Linked DNA regions of Homo sapiens: region 1 is linked to region 2. Evidence: promoter capture Hi-C in human tissues and cell types (Jung and others, 2019). All regions are on one chromosome and are shown on one strand. The core of a region is centred on a gene start or on the middle of the fragment in contact, and the rest is flanking DNA. Distances in the headings are between cores, read along the strand shown.

Region 1 (2,700 bases), core at 19-2,518, 200 kb after region 2:
GAGAGAGGGCCCCCACTCCAATTACCTTCAGTGCAGTTGAAAGACGGTCCCAGGTCCCGGCTTCTGTGGGGCTGTCCTGGGGTTAGGACATCTGCTCAGTCCCCCTTTTTCCTTTTTATAACTTTTCCCATTTCCTGAGCCCCATCATATGCCAGAAACCATGCTGGGCATGCCACCCACATTATCTCAGGCCTTGTGGGCTAGGTGCTGTTTTCCCCATTTCAAAATTAATGAGAAACAGAGAGGTTAATGCCTAATCCTACATCACACAGCTGCTCAGAGCTAACAGAGCTGGGATTCGAGACCCCTGCAGCTCTGCTTTCTGCCCAGCTGTAGCACTAAAATCTGATGCCCACAACCAGCTATGCAACCTCTCCATGTTTCAGTTTTTCCTTCTATAAAATGGGAGTGGTAAAGTAGTGCTTACATATCTTCTAGGATTATTGTGAGGATTAACTTGGTAAATGTACACATATACCCACAAAACATTTGGAAGAGTGTCTGACATAGAGTGAGTTCTCTACGAATTAAAATTAGCTGTTTTCAGGTCACTGGATTAGCATGGGCCACAAGATCAATGGCATTGGGTTTCCTGAGTCTGATTCCTGAGCCTTGCCTTGGAGGCGTGCAGTGGGTGGGCCTACTTAGTGTTTATTCAGCAAACACTACTGGGGCATTGGTTGGACCCAGACACTCAACAATAGCTCATTTAATCCTCACAATCACCCTCTGAGATATGTAGGGACTATTCTAATCATTCCCAATTTACAGATGAGCAAACTGAGGCATAGAGAGGTGCAGAAACTTGCCCAAGCTCAAACAGACTTGGAACAGGGGCAGCTTGGCTTCAAAGTCTGTGGTCTTAGCCACCTCGCTTCATCAGCTGCCTCTCCTTTCCAGAATGTGAGAACCTGAGTGGAAGAGGTACGGCTTTTCTGTATGGGCTTGAAGCCAACAATCACCCCCAACTATTCACCATATAATTAATGATGATTATCTTATCTCTTGGGAGTGAAATAGACACACAGTGACTATGAAGCCTGTTATGCTAAGATCTGTGTGCTCTTTTCCCAGGAGATAAGGGCTAAATAGGCAGAAACCAAGGTGGTGATCTCTCAATATTGTTCAGGAAGGAGAATTATGGAGCAGGCGAAAAATTGTTTGGCCTAAGTTTGCTGGTATCCCAAATGATTTTTCTCATTGTTTGTTTTTAAAAAAACCTAAATTGGGGTCTCCTTGGAGAAAGGAAGGCCAGGCCTGGTCATGGTGGCTCCCTGCCATGCTTCATGGCCAGAGTGACCTCTGCAAGGATCTGCTGCATGAATAATCACATCCTGGGAGTGAACCCATGTGTGAGAGTCAATTCCTGGACCCACCAAAAGAAGAGGGGCCTGAGGGGTCATCTGGTCCAGTATCCCTCCCTTCAAATAGGAAGAAATCCAGGCCCAGAACAGGGGAGCGACTTATGCAAGGTTGCACAGCAGACTGATGGCTGTCATGGGTAGCAACTATATGGGGGTGGTGGCATGGGTGGTAAAGGAATTTATCAAGACAGTCATAGGTATAGAAAGGCAGATTTATTACAGAAGATATGAAAAGATGTAAGAAAGCAACGGGTAGATTAGCAGGAGAGGAGCTGACTGCAAGGAGACAAAAGCTTTCTGGGGAGTTCATAGGATGGTGCTTGTGCTGGAGAGGGCTATGTGTAGTATTGATAATGCCAAGGTTGCAGTGAGCTAACTTGCATTTTTTAATCAGCTGAGAGTCTGGTGGTAAGTTGGGTACAGGAAGACTGTGAGTTATTTGCACAGGAGGGCTATGTGTCCTGGATTGTGAAGAAAGGCAGGTGTGTAGCTTATTTTCTTTTTCTTTTTTCTTTTCCCTTGTTTTGCCAGCCTAACTCTGTTTCCTTAACATTGTGACCCCACAATGGTGACCAGAGCTTCAGGACCCCTGGTCACTCCTTATGACCTTAACATTGACAAGACGCCTCAGCTTTGCCTGGTCTGGACTACAGAGTAACAAGGAGAGAGTGCAGGTGATGGCTCAAGCAAACCTGCCTGTTCCTAGGATGGTAAACTCCATAATGGCAGGCGACCATGGTGTCTTCTTTGCTGCATCCCTAGGGCCCAGCACAGAACGTGGCATACAGTAGAGACTCAATAGATATCTTCAAAATGACTTACTGAATGAGAAGGCCAGTGTGCAGTGAAACTGGAAGGGCAGAGTAAGCAGTGGGACCCCTAAGGGAGTCTCAGAGGGAGGGAGGTAAGGAAGATTCGGAAGACGAGGCATCTTCTTAGGAGGCTTCCATCCTCTCCAAAGATCTGTTCCCAAGGGAGGTTCTCTTGGAGAATCATCCTCAAGAAGAAAGTGTATGTGCCTTGCAGGGAGGTGGGAGTAGAGCTGGGAAACTTCTCCAGGTCCCAGCAGGGCACTCCATTCCCAGCCACTCAACCTGCACTTCTCCAGGCTATATCTGGCCTCACTGAGGCCTGATCTTACTCAGACCATGAAGCCTGGCTGTGAACCACCAAGTGACAGCTCAAAGCCCTATCTTTAAACCGCTCACCATGGTGTTTTAGTAGAAGCCATCTGGGCCTTGTTTTCCTGGGACCCTCAAAGCTCTCATCTGGGGGCACAAAGTGAAGGGCAGCTCTCTATTGTGATAGGAAAACTCTTCTGACCTACTTCCTTTCC
Region 2 (2,700 bases), core at 109-2,608:
GGTGAGGATCAGTACCTCTGTCTTCTGGATGAGGAAACTGAGCCGCAGAGAGGCTGATCACTCACACAAAGTCACCCAGCAAACACACAGCAGGTTCCTCTGACCCAGGAAACTGCTGTGCTAACCATTCTGCTGTGCTTCACTGTGTGGGATGGAGGCAGCAGCTGCTTGCCCATACATCGGGGACGAGGCTTTCCCAGAATGCCTGGAGTTTTCAAGCCATCCACTGCTCTCTGCGCCCCAGTCCAGGAGTGATGGAGAGCTATAGTCGGGAATCAGAGATTCCAGGTGGAGATGAAGGCTGACTGTTCCTCTGCTTCAGAAATAACCATTTGGTCAGAACTGAGGAGCATCAGAGGTTCAGCCAGACAAAGCACCTTCCTAGTCTCCAGATGAGGAAACAGGCCACTGGGGTGGGCAGCCTCAGTCATGTCAGATGTGGTGGCAGAGCTGGGACTCCTGGCCGTCCTCTCCAGCCCAGGGGCCACTGATCACATGATATTGCTCTGCTCATGCACCCTGCTTCTCCTCCACTCCACTCTGAGAGGTTCATCAACCAGTCCCTGGTGCCCATGAAGGCCAGGCCTGTGGAAGATGCTCAGTCAATATTTGTGCAGAGGATACAGGCCCAAGGTGCTCGGCTGGCCAGCTCTGTCCCCATCCCTCATCCATAAAAGCAGTGGTGGCTCCAGATTGCCACCTAGAAAGCCAGGGGCAGTCTGGTAGGAAGAAGGTGGGCAGTGTGGAGGAGCGGCCTAGAAGACGGTCAGCCAGCAAACCCACTCTAAGGTCCCATTAAGACACCCCCTGACCCTGCCCAAGAGGGACAACTGCAGCGGGGACAAATGATTCATCCCCACACTTGAGAAGCAGAGGGGCGGGGAAGGAGGAAAGGCTAGGGGTGTGTGTCAGGGTATTGCACACAGAGATGGTTGGCTTCAGTTCTGGGTTCTGAAGTCCCTCTGTGCCGCTGGCTGGGCAAGAGGTAAAGGACAGCTGGGCCAGGGGCCAGGCTGGGACTCCAGCAGGACTTCCGCGGCGAGGGGCGCTGGGGGGGCGAAAGGCTTTGGCGGCCCGGCCAGCAGCGCCCTCGGGGGTAAGGGGAAGGGAGGCTACGCGGAGAGGTGCCAGAGACAGCCGGTGCCCTTGCCCGCCGGCCGCCCGAAGTCCGGGTGGTGGGCGTGGCTGCCCCCGGCGGGTGGGTGGGGGCGGGCTCCGGAGCCTGGCTGCGGAGTGGGTGTCCAGGGCGCTCGCGGCTGGGGCGGCGCGGGGGGCGGGAAGGCGCGCGCCGAAGGGGTGGGGAGGAGAAGGGGCGGGCGGCTCGGGGGTGGAGCCGGGACCGCAGCGCCTGCCGCTCGCTCGGAGCTGTAGCCGCCGCTGCCGCCGCTGCTCTTGGCTCGGGGACGCGGGCGGGCGCTCCGAGAGGCTCTGGTGCCTGCGGCTGCTGCTCTCCTCCGGCGCCCGGGGCTGCGGCGCTCCGGGTCCCGGCCCCTGTCCCGGCATCTCTCGGGTCCCTGAGCCCCGGCCCCGGGTCCCGCGTCCGGCCGGAGAGAACGCACTCAGCTGCTCGAGCCGCCCCGGGCTCGCGCCCCCGGGCCATGAAGAGGGGCCCGTGAGGCGCGCGCGGAGTCGGAGGAAGAGGAGGGAGGAGGGAGGCCGAGGAGGAGGGCGCGGGAGGCGGAGGATGCCGCCGCGGCTGCTGCCGCCGCCGCCACCCGCGGGTCCCCGGCGACCCTGACTCCAGACCCGAGGATGGAGCCGGCGCTGGGCGCTGCAGCTGCTCCCGGCGCGTCCCCGACCAGGTATTGGCCGGGCCCCGCGGGCTCCGGGGCGGGCGGGAGCGGACACTCCGCCGCAGCAGCCGGGAGGGGCGCGGGCGCGGTGGGAGACGCCCCTCCGCTCGGGGACAGCAGCTACCGGCGGTGAGCGGAGGGGTGGCGGCGGCGAGGAACGGCGGCGTGTTGGGCGCAGGAAGGGGCTGCCGGGGCTGGTGGCCGGTGAGCGCCGCGATCACCTCAGCCCTCCCTGCCCCCATTCGAGGAGGGCAGCAAACTTGAGACGCGCGGTGGCCCCCGAGGCGCTTGGCTCCCCTCCGCTGCGGAGCGCACTCAGGGGCTGCTCCGGGCTCACCGTCCCACGACCCGCCTGGCTCGGGTCTGCGGAGGCGCCTTGAGACCCTGAGGTCCCCGCGCCCGCACCAACTTTCCAAACCCAGCTGCACCCGGAGGCGGGGGCGCCGCTCCCTGCTTCCTGCTCCCAGCCCTGGCCCGGCCTCCGCACCCAGACCGCTGCGATGAGCTGGGCCCCTGTGGGGCCGGAGCCGCCGGATGGTGCAGAGCCCACCACGGAAAGCCGGAACAACCCTCCCGCTCTTCTCTGGGTAGGACCCGGGGATCAGCCCCTCCCAGGCTCCAGGGACCCAGTGCTGGCTTTCGCGGTAACAGCCCAGAGTAACCCTAGCTGGGATGCTGGGCGTTAAAAGGCCAGGCTGCCTGAGGAAGGTAAGACCCGGGGGTCGTCCTGGAGTGGCACCTTGGCCTGATTTCAGGTGTGCCCCCTCCCCCACCCCGGGCCTGCCCTTTCACAGGACTGCCTTCCTCAGCTCTGGGGCCGGCTTCCTCTTGGTGGACTTAAAACTGCTCTTCGGCAGCGGACTCCCTAGGAAGGGCCACTCCTAGGGTCCAGGTGCCTGAAGACGGG

What was found. The method cuts DNA at HindIII sites, captures the fragments that hold promoters and counts their contacts. A contact is called where the count stands out against the background at its distance.
Region 1: a fragment that was not itself captured here is called in contact with the fragment with the promoter of CHST1 in region 2 in 1 of the 25 tissues and cell types used here (H1 embryonic stem cells).

Annotation. Positions count from the first base shown.
Region 1 is chr11:45,464,892-45,467,591 of GRCh38, reverse strand. No RefSeq gene overlaps it. Among named protein-coding and RNA genes, the nearest start is that of LINC02687, 95 kb to the right of the region's middle. The HindIII fragment of the contact is 7,479 bases long and covers 1-2,700 here.
Region 2 is chr11:45,664,280-45,666,979 of GRCh38, reverse strand. It overlaps CHST1 (carbohydrate sulfotransferase 1), which reads left to right and starts at 1,358. Exons shown (of 4, transcript NM_003654.6): 1 at 1,358-1,802. The HindIII fragment of the contact is 12,246 bases long and covers 1-2,700 here.